Linked DNA regions of Homo sapiens: regions 1 and 2 are each linked to region 3. Evidence: promoter capture Hi-C in 16 types of primary human blood cells and fetal thymus (Javierre and others, 2016). All regions are on one chromosome and are shown on one strand. Each heading gives the region's core, a stretch centred on a gene start or on the middle of the fragment in contact. The rest is flanking DNA. Distances are from core to core; before and after follow the strand shown. Region 1 holds the start of SSU72 (SSU72 homolog, RNA polymerase II CTD phosphatase). Region 2 holds the start of MIB2 (MIB E3 ubiquitin protein ligase 2). Region 3 holds the start of GNB1 (G protein subunit beta 1).

Region 1 (3,604 bases), core at 168-2,667, 320 kb before region 3:
AAAAAAAAAAAGAAAGAAAAGAATAAAGAGAAAGAATCAGCAGATCATGAACACTTGACACTGATTTTTGGGGGGTGTTTTTTGGTCTCCAACTCCTGACTTCAGGTGATCCGCGTGCGTCGGCCTCCCAAAGTGCGGGGACTACACGCGTGAGCCACCGTGCCTGGCCCACGTGACACTGTTAAAAACGGAAAAAAAAGGGGGACTGTTAATTTTCCCAAGTTGCTCAGGAAAGTTATAGCTGGACTGCGAGAAGAGAAGCGAAACACTGTTTTCATTTAAAGTTCACGTAGGTAACTTTGGAGGTAAAAAAGCCATTTCAACTTTCTTACTATCAAAGTTGACACATACCAAATTTTAACTGTAAGTCAAGTGGTCAGTTTCTCAGTTTGCTATGTGACTGAACAAAAAACTTGTTATCAAGCAGGAATAAACTTTCATTAGACATACGCTACGCAAGAGTCACAGGCGGCCAGTTAGCAGGGAATATAAACTAGCAGAGCCAAACCAAGTCCACGTTGTATTCCAGAAACTACCGGTTGGAGGCGTTCCAGGGAGGAAGAGAGGATCTTTCGCAAAAAAAAAAAAAGAAGAAGAAGTAGCAAACACACAAATCCATGGCATTAAAAAAAGAGACCGCTTTGTTATTTACAACATCGTGGTATGCCGTGATTGTGTTGCGCGCCGTTTCCAGGGAAGGTGGCCAACGACGCACACGAAATACCATGATCGGCCGCCGCCGCGCAGCCCCTCGCCGCGGACGCTACCCTCGCCCCCCGGGCCCGGCCTCGGAGAGCTCGAAGGACCACCGGACAGCGGGCGCCTCGTCCCGGAACCTGCCTTCCCTGTGATGCCCACCCGCGTGTGGACTACGCGCGCTGCCGTCCAGCTGCCATCCCAACCAGCCGACCCACGAGCGCGGCCCGGCCCGGCTTCCTCTCAGGGGTCCTGGCGCGGGCCAGGGGGAACCGGGGAGGAGGGAGGGCCGGTCGCCGGAGCAGAGCGCGCGGGGACAGGGTGGAGCCCAACTACCTGAGGATGTTGTGCGCCTCCATGCTCCGGTTCTGGTTGCTCGAGCACACCACCGCCACCCGCAGCGGGGACGACGGCATGGCGGCGGCCGCAAATCCCGCGGCTCTCCCGCTTGGGTTCCCACCCTACCGCGGCGCTTCCGCGCGAACAAAATGGCGGCCGCGGTGGCCGGAAGCGGGCGACGCGAAACGACGGCGCCGGCGGTGTAGCGTGCGGCGACTGCGCGGCGGCCTCCCCGCCCACCCTGGGCGCCGGGCCGCGGACGGAGCGCAGGCACTGGCCTTCGGGCGCGCTGCACTCGGCGAGGCCGGGGGCGGCCAACGCCGCGCCGGCCCCCGGCGTCCGCAGCAGAGACCCGCACTCCACAAGGCCCGGCTGAGCGTCACGGCGCCAAGCGGCGGCGTCCTGACATCAGCACCCCGCGCCGGCGCCTAGTGTGACGCGACGACGTGCGGAACAACAGGACGTCATAAGGTGTCGCCGCCGCCTTTGGGAGCGATGCGAAACGCCGCGCTTGCCGGAGATAGCATTGAGGGCCCTTCCGCGGCCCGGCGTTTCGTCTCTTGGGACGATTTTGTGCGTTCCCTCGGTCCCCGTGGGGCCCATAGTCCTCACTTCTGCCACCCCAGAGTCGTCGCGCTTCACTAGACCCGCTCCCTCCACTGTCCCGGAGGCCCACAGACATTCCCGCATTCTGAGGCTCGCTCCCGTCCCGTGCCGCTGTTACCGGCCTCCGGCCCCGGCTCATACAAGCAGGAGCACATCGCTCTTTTATGAAAGCCCTTCAACATTTAACGTTTAAATGCGAGGGCCGACCTGTGACAGACCTGGTTGGGAGTGCACGTCGACTAGGATCTTCCTCGCCTCGGGCTTCCTTGGAGAGGCCGCCGGCTGGTCTGAGATTTGGGTCCAGTTACAGTAAATCCAGTCAACGCGAGTGTGTCATTCCCCAGCTATGCCTGTCTGCCTGGATGCAGCCTCGCGGTGGACAGTGGGCTGATGTTTTGCCGTGGGAGCGCCACGGACGGGAGAGGGAGTGATAATGATTGTCAACCTAATAACAGGCTAACTGAAAATGATATTTATTTGGGAATAGGGCGTTGGCGAATATGCGTGCCATAGTAAACGATTTGCGCATTCAGGAAAGTAATGGTTTTTAAAGAAAAAATGAAGAGGAAGATAATGGTTTGGAAATAATTAACCTTGGCTACAAAGAACAGTAACAAGTGTACTCCCGGCCGGGCGCGGTGGCTCACGCCTGTAATCCCAGCACTTTGGGAGGCCGAGGCGGGCGGATCACGAGGTCGGGAGATCCAGACCGTCCTGCCTAACCCGGTGAAACCCCGTCTCTACTAAAAATACAAAAAATTAGCCGGGCGTGGTGGCGGGCGCCTGTAGTCCCAGCTACTCGGGAGGCTGAGGCAGGAGAATGGCGTGAACCCGGGAGGCGGAGCTTGTAGTGAGCCGAGATCGCGCCACTGCCCTCCAGCCTGGGCGACAGAGCCAGACTCCGTCTAAAAAAAAAAAAAAACAAGTGTACTCCCGTTCCAGGGTTGGACAGGCAGTTGCTGGGCAGCTGTCCTTGCTGAAGTATTTTTTGTGTAAGATTGCCTTAGTGCAAGGTTGTGGTTTTTGCAGAATCTTGTGATAGTTTTTCTTATTATTGATTCATGAGAATTCTCCATGGCCTTTCCCAGCTGTCTTTGTCAAGGTATTTTTTAAACATAAGTGAGTCCACTTTTATTTGACAACTTGGGTATTTTCCCCTTTTGATTGAGATCTTTCTCCAAATGCATCACTAATGAGTCATCCTGTAATTAGGTTTTGATAGTCCCCGTGCTGGGATGAACTTGTCCCAGATAGCTGGTCTGGTCCCACACTGGAGAGAGTGGCTGCTGGGAGTCATTGTCAAAACCCTTTTTTACCATATTTGAGCATCAAAGGAGGTTTGAAGGGTGTGGCTCTCAGGCTAAGTCTAACCTGGAGTCCATTATTAACTTCAACTTTTGTCACTTCTGTAGTCTTTCTATCATCTCAAAGTGCTGTGTCAGCATTATTCTGTTAGAAATTGTACTTGTAGCCGGGCGCGGTGGCTCACGTCCGTAATCCCAGCACTTTGGGAGGCCGAGGCGGGTGGAACACGAGGTCAAGAGATCGAGACCATCCTGGCCGACATGGTGAAACCCTGTCTCCACTACAAATACAAAAGTTAGCCGGATGTAGTGGTGCGCACTTGTAGTCCCAGCTACTCAGGAGGCTGAGGCAGGAGAATCACCTAAACCCAGGAGGCGGAGGTTGCTATGAGCTGAGATTGTGCCTATGCAGTTCACCCTGGCAACAGAGTGAGATTCCATCTCAAAAAAATAAAAAAAAAGAAATTGTCCTTTTGCAAAATATGGCAATGAATAAGTTTAAAAGGGGAAAATACAAGGTAAAATCAATAATAATATGACTATCCCAGTTTGCATATTGGTTTTGACCCATGAACCTAGGCTTAAAGGAAAGCAATTAAAAAGAAAAAAATTAGAAAACAAAAATAGAAAAATAGAGATTAAAGGAAGCCAATTGAATA
Region 2 (4,028 bases), core at 713-3,212, 280 kb before region 3:
CAGCCTGGGCAACATGGTGACACCCTGTCTCTACTAAAAATTTAAAAATAACCGGCATGGTGGTGCATGTCTGTGGTCCTAGCTACTCAGGAGGCTGAGGTGGGAGGATCACTTGAATCCAGGAAGCAGAGGCTGCAGTCAACCAAGATAGTGCCACTGCACTCCAGCCTGGGCAACAGAGCAAGACCCTGTCTCAAATACAAAACAAAACAAAAAACAGTTGGTAGAGAGCTTAGGATTTTATTTTTCGTTTACACAGGGAATCCAAGAAAGGAGACAGACAAAGTGAGTCTCAAGGATGAGAGCAGAGAAAAGCTCGAGATAAGAGCTGTGCAGCCGGGTCAGGAAGTGATCGGTCTAGGTCGGAACAGGAGAATCAGTTAGACACAACGGATGTGTTTGAGCCTTTGGAAAACGGTATCGTTAGGCATGTGGCGAAAACGTTGGGGTACTTGAAAAAAAGGCTGGCCATGGGTTAGTAAAAAGCTAGATATGTGAAAATATTAGGTAATTATTAACTCAAAAGAAAAAAAAAGATTGTACAGGAATTGTGGCATGGTTTTATACTGTAGCAGTGAACAGCAGGTACTCAATCATGAAGAGCTAAGCCTGATTTCATCACGACAGCTGTGAAAGTTGCAGGTACCAAAATGGAACTACTTCCACCAATCCCTAAACAAATGGAGTCGGGAGGCCACGAAGGGGGAGCTCTCATGCAGGAATACCTGCAGCAGGCCTCCTCACAAGACGCTCCTGCACGTCCTGCACGTTTGCCTGTAACCGGACTTACTGCAGGGAAATTCCTCAGGACTGCAGTATTCTAGATAAGCAGCTTGCACAAGGACGTCGGCCTGGTAAGGCTCTCTCCAACAACAAGCTAACGCCCACTCCTGCAGCAAGCGCCCACAGCCAGTGGTTTTTGTTACAAAACAACTTTTGTGAGCTCATCTGTATTTTCCCCTTCGCCCGGCCCTCTCAGATAGGCCTATGATCTGTCATGGCACGAACAGCCTAGGCTGCAACCCCCTGCGATTCCCAGATTAACTCACTTGTCCTGGAGAGCCTGCCTCTGGGTTTCCTTTCAGGTTGACAGTTTGGGAGCTAACAGGACCACGTGAGGGGTGCAGCGGGGAAGATCAGCCAGGTTCTCAGGGACCTTCTCCGGAAGTACGCAATGTCTACAATTAAGAAATGAGAGGCCGGGCGCGGTGGCTCACGCCTATAATCCCAGCACGTTGGGAGCCCTAGGAGGGCAGATCACGAGGTCAGGAGTTCGAAATCAGCCTGGCCAAAATGGTGAAACCCCGTCTTGACTAAAAATGCAAAAATTAGCTGTGCGTGGTAGCGCATGCCTGTAGTCCCAGCTGCTCGGGAGGCTGAAGCAAGAGAATAGTTTAAGCCCTGGAGGCGGAGGTTGCAATGAGCCGAGATCGCGCCATTGCACTCCAGCCTGGGCGACAGGGCGAGGCTCCGTCTCCAAAAAAAAAAAAAGAAAGAAAGAAAGAAATGAGAAACTAGCAGTGCATTGTTCAGAAACGCGGAGACTTCTCTCAGGAGAAAGCGAGAAGCAAGCGTCCAACTCTGGGGTGCAGAACCCGGGGCGGGAGGACGGGCCCGGACTGCCGTTTCTCGCTGTGTCCAGGTCTGCGTGACTCAAAACCCCGGATAGGGCCCGCACTGGTGGAGTCGGAAAGAGGTGGCTGCGGCGCGGCAAGTGCCGCCAGTGCCAGCGAGCGCGACGTCGCTCCCAAGCCCCCGTCTCTATGGCAACCGAGTGCGTCTCTAGGACCGCCACTGCGCAGGCGCCCGGAGGCTAAGCCGCTCGGAACCTAGCTGCGCCACGCAGGGTAGGCGACGCAGACGCTCCCGCGTGACGCACTTCCGGTGCTTGCCCTGCCCATCCCCGTGGCGGGGGCGTGGCCATGGCGGGGGCGCTCCGGCGGGGGCGGGCCCTGGGCTCCCGCCCTTCGGGTCCCACAGTTTCCAGCCGCCGCTCTCCTCAGTGCCCGGTGGCCCAGGAGGGCCTGGGAGCCCGAAGCCGTCCCCGAGTCGCTCCTAGGTCACTGGCGCGATGCGGGCCGTCCTCTCGGCTGATGGTGCGTGCGGGCGCGGATCTCCTCCCCTGGTCCTCCGCACCGTCCCCGAGTCGTTCTCCGCTCTGGCAGAACGCGAGCGCCGTCCGGTTCCCGCTCCCGCTGGCCCAGCAGCCCCGGGCTGGACTCGGCGTAGGGTCCGCACGGGATGGGCTGGGGCTGCGCGCGCAGCGCCGCCGCGGGGCCTCCTGGGAGTTGTGGTCCGGCCACCCGCGCGGGACTCCAGCTCCCGGCAGGCCTCGCGCGGCCCGGGGCCAGCGGCGCTGGGGTCGGCGCTGGGGTCGTCGTCCGGGCCGGGTGGGCTGCGGCGCGCGGCAGGCGCTCTGGCCTGGCCTGGCCGCCGCTGAGCAGTCGGGGCCGGTGGGTGGCCTCGAACGCCGGGACAGACCGACAGACGGACTGGCCGGCGGTCCCGCGCCCCCGAGCGGAGCGGGCGGGACGGAAACGTCCGGGCAAGTTGGGGTCGGCAGGTACTGCGCGGCCCTGGCAAGGTCTGGCAGCGGACAGGGCCGGGCGGCCTCCGCGAGCCACGGGCACGAATGACAGGGGGCGGGGCGCGCTCCGGGTGGGGGTGCCCGCCGTGCCCGCCCCTGGCCCGCCCGTTCCCCTGCGCCGGCGCCCGTGCGCGTCCCGGAGCCTCCTGACGTCTGCGAGCCGCGGCCGCCAGACCCCGGGCGCACGCAATTACGGGCCCGGCGCTGGCGGCTCCTGCGCGCTCAGACCCCAGGGAGCCCATCCGGGCAGGCGGCGGCCCTGAGTGTCGCGGCCGTGGGCCCGAGTGGACCTGGAGCCGGCGGGCAGCCCCGGGGGCAGACAGGCGACCGAGCCGCGGGTCGAGGTGCTAACTGTGCATCTTGGCATCTCCCCTCGGCCACAGGGTTGGAAGCCCAGCGAGGCTAGAGGCCAGTCCCAAAGTTTCCAGGCATCAGGGCTGCAGCCCAGGAGCCTCAAGGCGGCCCGGCGGGCGACTGGACGGCCGGACAGGTGAGCTCTTGATCGTCCGCGGCCTGATAGTTTGCACTTGGCTCTCCCACTTTGGGGCTCCGTGGAAGCCACGTCAGAGAGGCTGTGTTTGTGTCTGAGCATGCATGCGAGTGGAGGGGAGTGGTGAGTAATCCCGCGTCTCCTCTCTGAGTTCGGAACCCATGGAGGAAGAAAGCAGAGGTGCCAGACAGGCCTCTGATAGGCACCTGCAGGATTGGGGCAGAGCGGCCGCAGCGCAGGAGCGCCGGCAAGCCTGGCCCTTCCCGGGAGGCCCCCTTTGTCCGGTTCCACCCTGGCCTGTTGCCTCACATGCAACAAGTGTCTGAATGTGGCGCTCTCCTGGCCGAGGGCAGCCCTGGGCGGTGAGTGGGATGACACCCCAGCCTGCAGGGTGCCTGTAGGTCTCCACCCAGATGGGCAGGATTGGAGGTGGCCGCAGCGCTCGTGGGCTTTCCCTCAGCAGGTGTCTCCATGCTGGCCTCCCCGCCTCAGGGCTTCATCCCACTCCGTGGGCCTGATCTCCCTGGGGCACCTGGGATGTCCATCTGCGTTAGCTGGAGCTACTCCATGGCCTGTGGCGTGCCACACACAGCGGCATTTCGGTGTCATTAGGCACAGCTGGAGGTGCAAGGAGGAGGGCAGCCTCATGTCCAGTTCCATGTAACTTGCTTCTTCTGAATAAAGGCAATTTGCTAACTTTCTCGCTAAATAGGATTTGGTTTCTATGGCTTTTAAAGCTTCTCCGATAAAATACTTGCAATAAGGGAACTCTCTCCTCCTACACTCTCCTGACTGATGGTTCGGAAGTCCTCCTGCCCTCTGAGAGCTTGCAGTTTCTTGTGAAAAAGAGAAACTAAGCAGCAATAGAACAGACCCGGTGTCTGCTTGCGTGGTTAAGACGGTAAATGCTAAATGTGTGACACTGCCTTTAGAAACCATTTTCTCCAGCCT
Region 3 (3,870 bases), core at 393-2,892:
CCCTTTTCAAAACACAAATTTTAACATCGGCGTTTTCCTTCAGGAGCCCATTTCACAATCTTAAGAAAAAGCTTCCATGAAGACAGGCTGGGCACGGTGGCTAAGGCCGCTAATCCCAGCACTTTGGGAGGCTGAGGCGGGAGGATCGCTTGAGCCCCAGAGTTCGAGACCAGCCTGGTTAACAGGATCTCTTTTACAAAGAGATCCCATCTCTTAAAAAAAAAAAAAAAAAAGGCTTCCATGAAGATGAATTAAGCAAACAAAAGCTGATACTGCTTCTGCATGCTAACCATGTAATTTAACGGACACAAGAAATGTTAAAATATCATTTGAATCAACTATCGATTCACAAGAAAAAATATAGCAGGTTCTTAAAAGTCAAAAGCCTCAGCCGACAGCCCTGTGGAATTTTCAACAGATCTCCCCACTCCCCACCCCCACCCCGCTTCCAGCCGAAAAGCCGATCCAGGCAAGAGGAAGACACCCAGCCTTTGTGCTATTTCCTGTCCTCTCCCCCACCTTCGGGCCTTCGGAATATCGCAAACCGGGCCCCGAAACTCGGCGCGGCGGCGGCCGCCCCACAAAGGCAGCGGTGGGAGCGCCATCTTGGCGCGGCCACCGGGCCCATTCATTCGCGGGGCCGGGCCGGGGTCCGCGCAACCCTCGAGTCGACACGCGCGGGGCGCCAGCGCCGGACAGACCCGGGCCTCGGCAGGAGAAGGGCGAGGCCACAGCGCGACTGCCTCAGCGGCTCGACACAGCGAAAAGGGCCGAAACCGTTATTTTCCCATTTCCCGACGCCGCGCCCGGCTTCCGCTTTAAATCCCTACTCCGACCGCGGCGCGCGGCCCGGCTTCCCCATTTCATTGTTCCCCTTCCCCACGCTCGCGCCCCGCGGCCGCCCGGCCCTCAAAGTCACCCCGATAGGCGGCCCGCGCGGGGGCTCCGGCCGCCGACACCGCCCCGCCTGCAGGCCCGCCCGGCCTTTGTTCTCGCGCCGCGGGCCCGAGAGCCACGTCCGGCTCCCCACGCAGGGCCCGGCCCCGCCCGACCCGCGCCCCCGGGGCCCCGGCCGCCGCCACGGGAAGCGCCCGCGGCGCACACAACCCCGCACCCCGGTGCCGAAACTCGGCCCCCAGCCTTGGGCCTGGGACCCCGGCTCCTCTCCCTAGACCCCGCCCTCGACCCCGACCCTGCACCCCGAACCTCGGACCCCAGCCCCCGGCCCCCCCTTCGGACGCCGCCCGCCGCACCCGGGCGGGGCAGGAAGACGCGGCCCCGACCGGCGGGTGGGGTGGGGGCGGGGCGGGCGCCCCCAGGGCGGGCGGGTGGACGAACAGGACCCGGGTCCGGGGCTGGGGGCTGCCGCGCTCACCTCAGCGCCCTCGTCGCGGCCTGACGCGCCCACACCGCCGCCTCGGCCGCCGCTCGGCAGGTCGTCGCGCTCGGGCCGCGCTGCGCGCTCCGCGGGCGCTGCGGGCAGGTGCGCGCCGGCGAGGCTCGGTCCAGTCCCGCCGCGGCGGCTGCTCCACTCCCGGCCCCGCTCCCCACTCGCCGCCCGCTCCCGCTCCCGCCGCCGCCGCCGCCGCCTCCGTCCGCCCCTCAGACGCCTCCAGCCATCGGGATGGGCGCGGCGGGCCCCTGCCCGCAGCCTCGGAAAACCCCACGCGCTCGCGTCACCACGCACGCCGCGCGTCGCGCGCGCTCGCCAGGCCCGACGGGCACGCGCACGCCTGTGCGCGTCCAAACCGCATCGGGCCCCGAGCGCGTGTCCGAGCGGCTTAAAGGGGCCGTGCTGCTGCCTTCGGGTACCGCTGCCCCGGGAGACCCCCGGCGGCCCGGCCCTGCGGGGACCGGGCGGGATGGGGACCGGGGCAGTGGACCCTCGGAGTTGGGATGGGGCGGGGGGAACGCGGGCGTGGAGCCCTCCGGGGACAGGGTAAGGTTGGGTAACCGTGGGCGGGGGCTCCTCCAGGGGCGGGGGTGGGGTAACGGCGGGCGGGGGGCACTCAAGCGACAGGGCAGGGGCGGGAAGGCCGCGGGCGGGGGCGGTCCCTCCGGGGACGGGGCGGGTGGGGGCACCGCGGGCGAGATCGCTTCCTGCAGAGGAGGCAACAGGCCCCGCTAGCAGGTCAGGGTCCCGGGCAGGCGCAGGTGCCCCCCGGCCTCTCAAGCAGGGACTGCGGCGAGCTCAGACGCGGCTGACGGGCAGAGACTCGCGCTTGGGCTCAGTGCGTGTGAAGTGGGCCTCGGGCTGCGGAGGAGGGCAGCACCCCGTGGCTCCTCGCGCTGCTGCGAGCAGGGCCGCCTGGCAGGGGCGGGGGCCGGTGGGCGGGAGTGTCGGGGTAAGGCCGCGGACTCCTCCCATGCCGCTGAGCAGTGGACAGCGGGGACTGGAGACCTCCAGGTGAGGAAGGGGAACGAAGTCAAGAAGGCCACATGTCCTGGCTTCCAGGCTTGGTGTCCTCAGAAGCCTCCAGAACGTCCATGGAACCCGCCCCTGCGCCCACCGCCTCCTGCTGTCTTTCCAGCTGAGTTCCGGCTGCCCCTCACCCTCGGCTTCTTCACTCTGCCTCTCCCCAGCCAGCGCCCTGCTCCCCGGTCCTCAACCACCACCTTCCACCTGCCTGGGCCTTCATCGCCTCCGAGCTCCCCTTCCACACCAAACCTGGCGTCCGTTTTCCTCCAGGCCTGCACCAGCACAGCTGAAGGGGAGAGAGACCCAACCTCATCCACTGGGCCTCCCCTCAACCAGGGCCACAACCTCAAGGGGCCATGCCACCTCCAACACCTATTTCCCACCTTCTACTCTCTCCACACCCTGGGACACCACCCGCCTCTCTCAGCTGACGTTTTCCTTCTTGTTTTGTGTGCATGGTGCTTGTGTGAGAAAGTGGACACACAGTAAGTGCGGCTTCCAGATGCGTCCGCCACCTGCCCTCCGTGCCACGCGCTTCCCCCTACCTAGGGGAGCCTCCACCAGACAGGGAACCCACGCCTTGCCACCCTTCTCTCTCCCTCCCACTTCACCTGTCCGCATCATTTCTGGAGCCCTTTCTTTCTGGCACGAGATGCTCCAGGGCCCTGTTGTATTCTCCCTGCCCCAGCCTGAACCCAGCTATTTCTGCTGCAGCCTGGTTCATTGTGGGAGAATGTCATGCAGAGCCCGGGATCTGGCTCCGGATGTGCTCATTGCTACTGGGGTGTCATTGCAGCTGGCGGAGCAAGGGAACACATCTATGTACATGCCCACACGCATATGTATACACACAGTTTCATGGGCGTGTTTGTCTGTTTTTCTTGGGCACCACGTGTTTACTCTGATGCCAGGCCAACACTACAGGGCTCAACCTGTTCGGAATGAGGGGCCTCCTGCTTTGGGAGTGAGGAACCTGGCTCTGATTATCTCCTGTGTAACCAGTCTCTCATCCTTGCTTCCACCCCACCATATGCTACCCGCTCCTCACCCTGCGTGGCCTCTGACCTCCGCTGGACCACCGAGGCCCCGCCCCCACAGGGGCGCCTGCCTGCCTAGCACAGTTGAGCAAGGAGTGAATTCCCAGTGAAATTTTTTTAATTTTTATTTTATTTATTTATTTTGGGTTTTTTTTTCTTTCTTTCTTTCTTTTTGAGATGGGGGTCTCCCTGTGTTGCCCAGGCTGGTCTCAAACTCCTGGGCTCCAGCGATCCTCCCACCTCAGCCTCCCAAAGTGCTGAGATCACAGGCAGGAGCCACTGCGGACACAGCCTGAATTGTCAATCATATCACTCCTGTGCCTGAAACCATTGACAGTTCCCATCACCCGCCCTCTCCCCAGTGTCCAGGCCCCTCCTCCCCTCCCCACTATCAAGACACTGGCTCCTGATGCT

Evidence for each region. The method cuts DNA at HindIII sites, captures the fragments that hold promoters and counts their contacts. A CHiCAGO score of 5 or more calls a contact.
Region 1: the fragment with the promoter of SSU72 here is called in contact with the fragment with the promoter of GNB1 in region 3 in 1 of 17 cell types (total CD4 T cells); the score reaches 5.1 in total CD4 T cells.
Region 2: a contact is called between the fragment with the promoter of MIB2 here and the fragment with the promoter of GNB1 in region 3, in 1 of 17 cell types (neutrophils). The highest score is 6.3, in neutrophils.

The regions. Positions count from the first base shown.
Region 1 is chr1:1,573,446-1,577,049 of GRCh38, forward strand. SSU72 (SSU72 homolog, RNA polymerase II CTD phosphatase) reads right to left here and starts at 1,418. Exons shown (of 5, transcript NM_014188.3): 1 at 1,033-1,418. The coding sequence starts at 1,112. SSU72-AS1 (SSU72 antisense RNA 1) reads left to right here and starts at 1,502. Exons shown (of 1, transcript NR_197593.1): 1 at 1,502-3,604. RefSeq lists silencers at 902-981, 1,222-1,381, 3,041-3,210 and enhancers at 1,502-1,611, 1,622-1,691. The HindIII fragment of the contact is 11,232 bases long and covers 1-3,604 here.
Region 2 is chr1:1,613,538-1,617,565 of GRCh38, forward strand. It overlaps MIB2 (MIB E3 ubiquitin protein ligase 2), which reads left to right and starts at 1,963. Exons shown (of 20, transcript NM_001170687.4): 1 at 1,963-2,096; 2 at 2,971-3,077. RefSeq lists an enhancer at 1,458-1,627 and silencers at 1,728-2,777, 2,808-2,897. The HindIII fragment of the contact is 6,747 bases long and covers 1-3,812 here.
Region 3 is chr1:1,889,445-1,893,314 of GRCh38, forward strand. GNB1 (G protein subunit beta 1) reads right to left here and starts at 1,643. Exons shown (of 12, transcript NM_002074.5): 1 at 1,376-1,643. It overlaps GNB1-DT (GNB1 divergent transcript), which reads left to right and starts at 1,736. Exons shown (of 2, transcript NR_168264.1): 1 at 1,736-1,939; 2 at 2,456-3,282. RefSeq lists silencers at 958-1,147, 1,708-1,897, 2,018-2,117, 2,178-2,427. The HindIII fragment of the contact is 9,511 bases long and covers 70-3,870 here.